3 separate regions of the Homo sapiens genome follow, and all the other regions are linked to region 3. Evidence: promoter capture Hi-C in human tissues and cell types (Jung and others, 2019). All regions are on one chromosome and are shown on one strand. The core of a region is centred on a gene start or on the middle of the fragment in contact, and the rest is flanking DNA. Distances in the headings are between cores, read along the strand shown. Region 1 overlaps CPNE4 (copine 4). Region 2 overlaps NEK11 (NIMA related kinase 11). Region 3 holds the start of MRPL3 (mitochondrial ribosomal protein L3).

Region 1 (3,909 bases), core at 428-2,927, 220 kb after region 3:
AGTACAAAATAAAAATGTGACACAGAGCCATGGAAGGGGCCCACATGAGAGAGGGGATCTGATGTTAAAGCTTCATCAATTTCACAGTAAATCAGCATCTTGATTCAGTCAGGGAAAGTGGTCTCTTCCCACCCCATACCCCCCCACGTTTGTTCTGACCCCTATGAGTTGCTTATATTGCTTTCTTACTTGGAAGTCTCCCCTCCTCTTTCTTCTGCAATCCCTAGATAATGTTTTTTTCAGATTTTGGTGCCACAATGCCTTCTTTGACTCTACCCAGTAGAAAAAAGCTCTCTCTTCCTTTAAGGTCTACGACCTTGTATAGAGAGCCCAGGGTATTTTGTAATGAACTGCTCTATTTGAAGTGCATATTACTATGCCTTCTCCAGTAAGATTATCCACTATCTGGGCACAGGGACTGTTTTTACTTTTTGACTCACTTACTGCATTTCTGGGTACAACAAAAAGGAAAGGAAAAAAGGAAAAGTATTACAGAAGCAAAATGATGAAGTTTAGAGTCAGGAAGACCTAGTAGAGTCCTAACACTGCTACTTATTAGGTAGAGCCTTCATCAAATCACTTAACCTCTCTGAGTCTCAGGTTTCTCACTGATAAAATGGATATAATACTGATATTTATTTCATATTATTGTTGGAAAATTAAGAGCTTTTATTCATTCACTGAGTATCCATTTAGCCTCTGCCTTGGGCTATTTTTGGTACCAGAGATGTCGACTAAATGTGAATGAGAAATACTTGCTGCATAGGGGTTCTCACAGCTGAGTTGGAGATGGAAATTTATAGTGAAACAGGATAAGGCTATAACAGACATGTGAAAAGAGCATAGTGCCAGACACATAAGTGCTCAATAATAGTTGTTGAATAAATGAGTGACACAGTGGGGGAATTCAGAAGAGAAAGTTCTGAATTTTTCAAAATAAGAAATCGTACAGACTTGCAGAATCATCTCTACATAAACATAATGGATATGACACCACCTGGGAAGTTGTAAAATGCTGCATGTTAAAGAAAATACAATCAATAGGAAAAAGCAAGGATTAGATGAAGGAAGAGAGGGAAAGGGGGCAGGAAGAAAGGCCCTAGGATGGCAAGGAGGAGGAAGGGATGTCTGTTGACCCACCTGGCCAAGTGTGCACTCCATGCCACCAAGGAAGTCGGCCTCCTTCAGCCCATTGTGGTTGCTGCTGATGTCATGGACTTCAAACCGCAGGCGCTGCACCTCCTCAAAGTAAAAGTCCACAGTAAACAGTTTTGAGTACACTGGGTTTATGCAGGTGCGAATCACCTCAGTCCTGTCAACCTGCAAGGAGAAAGAGAAAACCTATCAGAGATAAGGATTATTTTTATTATTACCGTTCAAGAAAATTCATCTCAGAGCACTTCCCTTCTTCCCAACCATAAATGCTCCCCAGCAAGTCATTGGGTGGGCAGTCCAAAAGTACAAAGTACAGGCAATACCTTCAGAGAATGAGACGAGTTTTAGGGAAGAAAATAATGTTAGACATGTAAATAACTTGAAGATTTAGAGCTCATTGTATGAGTTTGCATTATACAAAATTGTATCATTATATCATTATGTCATTTTGTTGATGGGAAAACTGAGGTCCAGGGAATTGAAATGAGTGGGTGAACATTATGAACAGTAAAAATTTTTGAGTACACTGGGTTTATGCAGGTGCATAAATGATTGATTGATGCATTTCATGATTGATTCAACCTTGTCCTGCCTAATGTGCCTGAGGTCACATCTAGGCTCAGGAGGAAAGAAATCTGTAATTGATTAGTGATGTCTGGTGGGCACAGTAATGGAGAAAGTGCTATGTAGGTGTCTCATTTTAGCCAACTCTAAGTTTCCTAATCCATGATTTCCAGCATAATGAAGTAGAAAAACCATGAGAATAGATAAGACAATAACTGCCTTTGGTCTCGAGTATGCCCTTTATTAAGTGTATAATGTTCACCCATTCATTTCAATTCCCTGGGCCTCAGTTTTCTCATCAACAAAATGAAAATTAGATTAGAGGTTGAAAAGTTCCTTTCTGCTCTAACATTCCATGAGCTATGATTTCCTTTGTCTTCTGTGATAATAGTTTTTCAGTTGTCCCCCTCTCTCAGATATTAATACATCTCTGCCACTTTCTGCACTATTCTGTGACATAGGAGACTGATGTCTATGGATTGATTTTCCTGGCACCCTTGCCCTCTGGGTTCTGGTTGGAGTCAGCCAAATGGAGGACTTCGCAGGAGATCAGAGAATGGGAGAACAGAGAGGTGCAGGCATGCCTCTATACACACACATTCTGCTAGCAGACTTCCTTCTGCACAGGGAGCTTTTGCTGGGATTTGGTAACATAGTGCCTCTCTCTTGTCCCTTCACATTGAGGGGTAGTAATGGCTTCCTGTTGTTGCTATCTCTGATGTCTCGGATGCCTCACTTTCTTTCTTGGCTCTTTTAACCCTGCCCATTCCCGTGTACAGAGTTTAGTCCTTTAGGTTAAACTGTTTGGGTATGCCATCTGTTTTCTACTAGGATCCTTATCGCTAAGGCTCTTTTCCTACATACTTGTCACAAGTAAAAATATACAAAACCATTTATATTTTGGGAAGCTTTTAAAGACTAAGTTATAGATAACCCAAGATTCTATAGCATCCCTGTACTAGAGATACCCATCCTTCCTATTTTACAAATCAACTGGAACCTCTATGTACTGTCAGCTTTCAAATAGAAATATGGTTTATTGGATGTTTTCTGACATTTGTTAGCACAAACTATGAAAAGCATTTATCTCACTTTCATATGAGTAAAGGAAAATAGTCTCTCAATAAAGGGAAAGCAGTTCTTAACCATATTATGCATGTCCATGTTGCCTAGCAAAGAAAATCTGATATTTGTTCTAGCCACCCCTAACATTCTTCAGTTCAGTGCTTTGTCTCCAGCCCTAGCCCTTCCTATGCAGGGATGTATGTGAGAGAAAATTGTCCTTTAAGGAACACTACCTGCCATTATTGGTTGGATGGACAATCCGGGTTGCAAGGAGAAGAGTATGATTCTGATTATGTCCCCATCCAATAAATAGGCATACAGAAAACCAATCTCCAGCCCATTGCTGACTAGAATTTTACAAGTTACTGTTCTGACCAAAGGTTATCTGCCTGTTCCAGCTTCCCCAGGAAGACCCAGCTTCTATTTGAGCTAAATTTTATATTCTTATATGATGTTCATTCAGAGGGTGATGGGACTGATTATGCCACTGGCCATTTGTGCAGGTACAAGAATTTACTATATCAGCATAATTTTTCTGTTGTTCAGGGATAATAGTTTTGAATAATAGAAATTAGAGATCATAAACTGGTAGTCTGCAGGGATAAGCTGACTTGAAGGTACTTTATTTGTCCTACTCAAAGTATTTTTCCCTTCATTTTCCCACTTAATAAGGTAGCTGTTTTTATTACCCTTCCTTTAGAAAAACTTGGAATATCTGGCAACCTTGGGCCACATTTCTTCATGGCAACAATTGGAGACTGTCCCATTTAGACAAAGCATTTACTCTTCACTTCTCACAGCAACTTCCAGGCCTTTCTCCTTCATTTAATTTCTCTTCCTGGCCCCTAGAGGCATTTTTGCAACATCTGGTCCAAATTCATGAAATAATGAGCCATATAAGAGATTTAATTATATTTATATTGTATCTTTTGATAGAGGATTTGGAAATAACCCCAAGAAGTATGCTGTGGGTGCATTTGACATCCTCAAGACACAAAAAGGGCACCTGCTCTCCTTGTTGCTGGAAGAGAGTGCTGAATAGGTTTAGATGATAGAAGACAGGTGATGGAAACTCTAGTCTTTGTTATTCTCCTTTAACTGCCCCAAAGGGCACAAATAAGTGAT
Region 2 (4,057 bases), core at 950-3,449, 160 kb before region 3:
ACGAGTTAATGGGTGCAGCACACCAGCATGGCACATGTATACATATGTAACTAACCTGCACATTGTGCACATGTACCCTAAAACTTAAAGTATAATAATAATAAAATTTAAAATAATAAATAAATAAAAATAAATAAAAATAAAAATCAGCTTAGAAATTGTTCCAGAAGTTAATGTCTTCATTTATAAAGGAAGACAGTGACTGGCCTACAGAACTGAGTGACTAGACTGCACAGCTAGCTAGGAGCAAAGCCTGAATGAGAATCAATCTGAACCCCCCCTCCATGTAGTGCCATTTAGTGGTTAAGATACTTAACATCTGTGCCTCAGTTTCTTCAACTGTGAAACAGGAGTTATATCGCATACCTCATATGATTGTGTAAATAACACATTAAAAAATAGATATCAAGTGCTTGGCATAAATTTTTTTTCTTTTTTTTTGAAACGGAGTCTTGCTCTGTCACCCAGGCTGGAGGGCAGTGGCGTGATCTCAGGTCACTGCAGTGGCACGATCTTGGCTCACTGCAGCCTCCACCTCCTGGGTTCAAGCAATTCTCCTGCCTCAGCCTCCCGAGTAGCTGGGACTACAGGCACACGCCGCCATGCCCGGCTTATTTTTGTATTTTTAGTAGAGACGGGGTTTCACCATATTGGCCAGGATGGTCTTGATCTCCTGCCCTCGTGATCCACTGGCCTCGGCCTCCCAAAGTGTTGGGATTACAGGCATGAGCCACGGCGCCCAGCTGGTTTTTTTTTTTTTTTTTTTTTTTTTAATACTAAGTCTGGCAAGGATATGGAGCAACTAAGACTGTCATACACTGCTGGTGGGAATGCAAAATGGAACATCTGCTTTGGAAAACAGTTGAGTGGTTTCTTCACACTTGATCTTCACCAAACGGCTGAGAAGCAATAAGCAGTTTCTTATAAAGTTAAATATACACTTACCATACAACCCAGAAATTCCACTCCTAGGTATTTATCCAAGTCAAGTGAAAATATATGTCCACACAAAAACCTACATATGAATACATATAGCAACTTTATTCACAATCTTCAAAAACTAGGAACAACCCAAATATTGGTCAGCTATGAATGGATAAACCAACTGCAGCACATCCGTACAGTGAAACACTGATCAGCAATAAAAGGAACAAATTATAATACACACAGCAGTTTAGATGAATCTCAAAGATGCTATGTTAATTGAAAGGCACCAGTTCTTTAAAAGCTGCATTCTGAATGATTCCATTCATATGACATTCTGGAAAAGGCAAAACTGAAGGAACAAAAACAGGTCAGTTATCACCAAGGGGTGGAGGGAGGACTTGGTTACAAAAGGATATGAGGGAATTCTGGAGTGTGATGAAATTGCTCTGTATCTCAGTTGAGGTGTGAGTTAGATGGCTGAATGAGTTTATCCAAACTCATAGAGCTGTACATTCAAAAGAAGAAATTTTGTTATATATATTTTTTTATCAATTTAAAAAATATATAAAAAATAAAAGAGGGAATCCCAAAGATGAAATAAAAACAAAACATTCCTGGGACTTAACAGACTCTTTGAAAAACAAGTTTTCTTCTATTTTCCCCTCCTTTCCCTGAGAAAGAATTACTCATGATTGAAAGCCCTTAAAAAGAATTTGCTTACTCAGATATTATTTTTAAAAGGAGTGAAATTCATGACTCACAAAGTGTCTATTTTCTTCTGGCTTTTAAGTCATTTTTTACTTCATTTTTTCAACAAATAATTATCGATCACCTATAAGCAAAGAATGTCTTCCTGAGCTCTCACTTATAATTGAACATTTAGAGCTGAAGGAATCCTTAGAAATCAGTTAGTCTACATTGCAGATGAAGTAACTGAGGCTCTGAAAAGTGAAAGTCACTCACCCAGTGCCACCCAGAAAGTTGGTGGCAGAATCCCAGCCAGCACTTAGAGTGTCTAACGGGGCTTCGGTCTTTTCACTGTGCTCATCTTTGCAGCCCCTGAACCTTATCCTAAGAAGCTAACAGCTGCTTTGAGAAGTGATTTCTTCAGCTGTGTGAATGTACCCTTCACTGGTGGGATTTATAAAGTGTGATGGTGGGGGTACAGGGAAATATTTGGGACAAAGCATTGTATTCTGAGCTTCTGGAAACTCACTTCACAAGCTGCTTCCCTTCCCTAAGAGGAGTCCTTGTTTCTTACAGTAAACAGGAACAGGAACAGATTGCATGGAAGAATCATTAGTAGGCACCTGGAAGTGGCAAGATCCCTCTCCTGTTACTATCAAAGCTTTGTTTTTACCCAAGAGCAGTAAGAACCTTCTTGAACTGGTGTAGGTGGAGCTCTCTAATAATACCCCAAGATAATGAAAGACACTACTCCTGAAGTCATCCTTTAGGCTAATACATAAAAGGATGGATGACCAGAGGGTAAGAGCTGGTAAATCCCAAAGGCGTGAGCAATGCAAATTGAGGGACATTCTAGCATCCAGATCATTGAAGGAAACTAAAGAGACATGACAAGTAAATGGAACTCATGATTATTTTGAATGCTTTGTTATCAGGCAGTGTTATTGGACAATTGGGGGAAATCTGAATGTTTCCATATACAAGATAACAGAATCAGATCTATTAATGTGAATTTCCTGATTCTGGTGGCAGTTTTGTGGTTATGTAGAAGTGTTTTTATTCGTACAAAATACACACAAAGTATGAGTGGGGGACATTGGGGTAGCAACTTATTCTCAAAAGACTCAGGGACAAAATAGTTCTTTATACTATTCCTGTAACTTTTCTGTAAGTATGGGATTCAAAATTAAAATAATATTTAAAATATGAGGACATTTTAGATATTATCCTTATAAAACTAAGCAGCTATGGCTGTATTCTTTAGAGCCCTTATTAGATAGAGATAAATAATTAGAGGGTACACAGCATAGTCTATAATTGATGGGCAAATAAGTAGATGTGATAAAATGTATTTTTTTATAAATGAAAGGTAAGCACAGGAAGAGGTAATAAAGGAATTTGGAGGATGAGAGATTGAGTTTGGAGGAAATGGGCAGGGGAGAGAAGAAGAGCTTTCTTGGTGTTTAATAGTTTTTCATCAGCAAGGGAGTCAGCCAAACACGTATTCGGGATGTGACCCCAAGCAGTTCAAATTTTGGAACATTAGGGAACCTTCCTTCAGGACTCCTGTGTCAAGGGACCATTATCCAGCCCAACGAGCACTGTCCTGAGAGTCCTGAAACCTGGACTCTAGTCCCCTATTTGTCCCCAACTGCCAATTCAATCTTGGGCAAAACAACCTGTAAATGAAGTATTTGGACTAAAATGATGTTTGACAATCCCTAAAAAACTTAAAAGGCTTTTGTTTCTTGAAGAAAATGATAAAATTTAGAAAGGAAATGCACCATAGAAAGAAATAGAAAACAATGAAAATATAAATTCTTTTTATTTGAGATACCCAGCTAACTAAAGGAATAGTTCCTGCCACCCCATGTCCCTCTCTTTGAAAAAGGAAACATAGGAACTCTTTTAATTTGAACAGCACAGAGAATACTGCCCTCCCTTCTCACATCTTAGATAACAGCAAGAGAGTCCTCTTAAATTGAATTTCTATTTATGAATCTAAAAATTCAAATGCATCATTGCAGAATATAGTGTGTTTTCCAAATATCAGAATAAATTTACACGGCAATATTCCAAGACTAGAACACCTATAGCTTTTCTGTCAGCCTAAAATGAGTTTGTTTATGGAATGACTGATTTTGTTTTTGACCCGTAATTTATTTAGAATGTATTATTTTAAAATTTACTCACATGTGTAAATGTTTAATCTTTATTTTTATTACAGATTTCTAACAATTTTATTGTGGTCAGACACTAGATTTTATATGAAACCAATTATTCAGCATTTATTGAGGGTTAAATTGTCTAGCACATGGTCAGTTTTCGCAAATGTTACATGAGAGCCTGGGAAGAATGTCTTGCTCTATGTGTATCTATTAAGTTCAGCTTATTAAGTATGTTATTCAGATATTTTCTATCATTACTAATATTTTGAATGCTT
Region 3 (3,857 bases), core at 1-2,500:
AAAAGAAAAAATAAATAAAACCAAACCACAATTTAAAAACTTCCTCCACTTAATATAGAAAAGGGAAGTCACAAATTGGAAAGTGTAGTCAGGGCCTTGGGAAAGGGCTTGGATTCTGTATACCTTTTTTTCAGGTCTCCAACCTTTTCCTCACTCCCCACATTCCTTCGGATAAGGCTCACATTTAAACTGTTAGTCGTTACCCTGGAGAAAAAAATTCATCTTCTCCTCGCAGATAAACATATTCCCCAAAAAACAGTCCTACCTATAGACATGAAAAGCCACTAACCCATTTGGAAGTGTACCTTAATAGTTTTACATTCAGTGGAGGTGGCAGAAGGTGGCATGTTGATCTTTGTCTAACAAGCTCACCTCCTCCCTGCAATGACATGGCCTAGGTTCAGAGAAGTGAAGAAACTGGGTGTGCAAAGTTAAAAGATCCACAAAAGGCATGACCTCTGAACAGGTGAACATACCAAGAAAGACCTTAGTGGGCGGAGGTCAGGAAGAAGGGGTGTAATTCTTGCATGGAGGGTCAGAACAGAAGTAAAGCTTTCTGCAGTCTACTCTCCTTTTGTAGTCAGATAAATTCAGGCTAGATTCCTAATTTTCCACTTATTAGTTGAGTGACTTTGGGCAAATTAACTCACCTCCCTAACCTTCAGTTTTATCTGTAAACCTTATGATAGCAGTTTGCTCCCGTGAGGCTACATAAGGCACCTAATACACTTAGCAGAGCGCTTAGTACCTGGCAAACGCTCACTAATTGTAAGATATGATTGCTGTTAATAGCGTTCGCTGCTAGTGGCTGGCTCATAAGCGTTTTTTAAAAATCACCACTTCAATCCCCTTAGAACGTGCTTCCTTAGGTTAACGGCCCTTATTCTTCTGTGTCCCACGTCTCAACAGAGCCCCTTCCTCCTCCACCCAGGGGAGGCCCAACTGCACCAGGCCATTCCACTGCTTCAGGACGCAACTGTGCAGGTAGGACACCCTCACACCTTCCTACCTGTTCCCCGGGCCCAGGGCAGCACCCAGGCCGTCCCCGAGTCGACCCAGCACCTGGGCGCCGACCTGCGTCAGCAGCCTCCAACCCGGCATGGATTAGCCCGGGAAGACTCGACTCACGACTTCCGGGCGCCCTGCCGCTCTGCTTTCAGGGAGTCCCCACGCCACCGCCACGTGGACGCAGTAGCCGTGGGGAAGTTTTCGCAATGGCCGCCGGAACGGTCGCCGGCCGATGCTCTCTGCGACGGAAAGAAAGCCGCCGGACCCACTTCCGGTGCGTTTTACAATGAACTCCGGGCACTCGAGTCGCTCCCCGGAAACTATAGTTCTGCTTCCACCGTTGTCCTACTTTGGATGTGAGTTGGAGTAGGTAGGGGTGGGAAGGGACTGACTCGCCTCTCCAGGGGTAAAATAAAAGGGATGTTCAGAGTTTAAACTTTAGAAGAATAAGGACAGACTTCCTGAGGACGCTAAGGAAAATGAAGACACTTCTAAATAGTGCCCGTTGTGAGGCAATGCATTATGCTAAGCAGCGCTTCATAATCCTATATTTGTTAATCATAAAAAACGGTCCTGAAAGGAAGTATTTATTTTTCTATTATAAATGAGGAAACTGACTCAGAATTTAGGTGCTGGTCCAAAACAACACATCTGGCAGAGGAGCAGAGTTGGCACTGAAACAGGGTTGGCATGTGTTATCAATAGACTACACCCATAGAAATGATGTATGCCTTCTAGGGCTGGATCATAAAACATATTGTTACTTCAGTTTTTGTCTCTTGGATTGCTCCCTGTGGAGAAAGCTAGCCTTCATTTCCTGCAGACACTCAAACAGCTCTGCAGGGAGGAACATATAAAGAGGAATCAACTAGCCAGTCATGACTGAGCCACCTAGGAAGTGGATCCACCAGTCCTCGGCTGCAACTCATGGAGACGTTAAGCCTGAATCTCCCAGCCAGGCCGCTCATGAATTACTGACTAGGAGAAATTGCCAGAGAAAATAAATGATTACCGTTTTTTTGAGTCATTAAGCTTTAGGGTAATTTGTTATGCAATAATAGATAGCTAATACACCTGCACAAAAAATCCCCTGTCTTGGGTTCCAGATCTAGCCTAATAACCATGTATGTGACTAGGACATTTATTCTTCTACTAATTCCCTTATTTGTCAGATTACTGTTTGTAGAAATTTGGAAATAAGAACTTTAAAGTGTAGCTATTTCAACCTTCTCTTTTTACTAGAGATCTGGCTATCTTGGTTTAACAGGTCCAGACAATGGTCAATTCCTGGCCATTACTTGGACTTTAGTGGGCTAAAAAATCTTTGCTTTGCTTGTCCATTCATTCCACTCATTGCTGTTGCAGTTACCTTAGACACTTTTCAATAATACTTTGGACCTTGAAGGAAAAACTACATCTCTTCATTCTAGCCATGCTGCCTGGCTTCCCAGATACTTAAGGATGGCTCTTCATTGAACAAACATGTTTTGAGGTGTGCTACATGCAAGAAGTTGAGAATAAGAAGATTTCTGTACTACTGCCAATAACTAACATTTCTTATCCATATAGTGTGCTAGAGTATGTGCTCAGCATTGTGGAAGCCCATAAGCCAAGGCTACTAGAAGAAAACGTGAACTCATACAAAGTCAAGTTTAATTAGCTTGATGCAGCAAAAGACAGCATATGTCTGAGGATGTTTCCAAAAGAGTGACCTGGGAGGGGCTTGAAATGAAATTTGGACTTAAGGCTGAGTGATTTTAAAGTGGCATCAGAGAAGCAGGAACTTGTTTTAGAATGGGTGCTGTCAAGAAGAAAGGACAGTTCAGCAATTGGATATCTTGATAGTCTTTGTTCTAGAGACAGGAAGAACAGAGAGGAAGTGGGCATGATGTTCATAAGAAAGCAGGAATCACTCAGAATAAGGAACTGTTAGTCATTTTGCTGCAGTGGTGTGGCCTACAGTACGGTCTGTAAGAAATATTGTAATGATGGGCTGGGCGTGGTGGCTCAGCACTTTGGGATGCCAAGGCGGGTGGATCACGAGGTCAGGAGATTGAGACCATCCTGGCTGACATGGTGAAACCCCTTCTCTACTAAAAATACAAAAAAAAATTAGCCGGGCGTAGTGGCGGGTGCCTGTAGTCCCAGCTACTCAGGAGGCTGAGGCAGGAGAATGGTGTGAACCTGGGAGGCGCAGCTTGCAGTGAGCGAGATTGAGCCACTGCACTCCAGCCTGGGTGACAGAGCAAGACTCCGTCTCAAAAAAAAAAAAAAGAAATATTGTATTGATGTTCTGCTATAAACACTGCAGTCCAGTTACTAATAGTATTCATTTTTACTCTCTCAGTGTATTTTCTCACTTGATTGTTATGACAATCTGCTGTGACAATAGTATAATTATCTGGATCTTACAGTTAAGAAAATAGGCATACAGAGATTACATAACTTAAATAAAATCACCCAGCTATTAACTGGTAGAGCCAAAGACTGTGACCATAGATAGAGCTTATGCTTTTAGACATTTTGTTTCTTTGGCTCTCTATGACAAATATGTCACTACTCTTGCCTTGGAATTTCTTTAAGGCTAAAGAGGAAAATCGGTAAGTAATCACACGCAGTGGTCAGTGAGGATTGAAGAGGTAGCCATTTGGTCTAACCTTTTCCCATAGTACCAAATATCTCCTAGTCCATAAGGAGGACCTTGACAGCAGGCACCACCGCTGAACTGAATCAAAGTAAAACATGGTTTGTCTGCTGTCGTAAAAAATGTGTCTCCTGATTGCCAGCCAGGGCTGAGTGGTGTCATACTTGATTTAGTCACTGTAATATGCTGCTGACAGCTACTAGGC

What was found. Contacts are between HindIII fragments. The study calls those that stand out against the background at their distance.
Region 1: a contact is called between a fragment that was not itself captured here and the fragment with the promoter of MRPL3 in region 3, in 1 of the 25 tissues and cell types used here (aorta).
Region 2: a contact is called between a fragment that was not itself captured here and the fragment with the promoter of MRPL3 in region 3, in 2 of the 25 tissues and cell types used here (hippocampus and stomach).

Annotation. Positions count from the first base shown.
Region 1 is chr3:131,722,306-131,726,214 of GRCh38, forward strand. It overlaps CPNE4 (copine 4), which reads right to left. Exons shown (of 16, transcript NM_130808.3): 3 at 1,141-1,320. Among named protein-coding and RNA genes, the nearest start is that of MRPL3, 220 kb to the left of the region's middle. The HindIII fragment of the contact is 4,257 bases long and covers 1-3,806 here.
Region 2 is chr3:131,337,520-131,341,576 of GRCh38, forward strand. The region is part of intron 17 of NEK11 (NIMA related kinase 11); the gene reads left to right. All of the region lies in intron 2 of NUDT16-DT (NUDT16 divergent transcript), which reads right to left. Among named protein-coding and RNA genes, the nearest start is that of NUDT16-DT, 42 kb to the right of the region's middle. The HindIII fragment of the contact is 4,382 bases long and covers 9-4,057 here.
Region 3 is chr3:131,501,721-131,505,577 of GRCh38, forward strand. MRPL3 (mitochondrial ribosomal protein L3) reads right to left here and starts at 1,251. Exons shown (of 10, transcript NM_007208.4): 1 at 1,010-1,251. The coding sequence starts at 1,101. It overlaps LOC105374114 (a long non-coding RNA gene), which reads left to right and starts at 879. Exons shown (of 3, transcript NR_189111.1): 1 at 879-984. RefSeq lists enhancers at 887-1,573, 1,080-1,149. The HindIII fragment of the contact is 5,057 bases long and covers 1-3,857 here.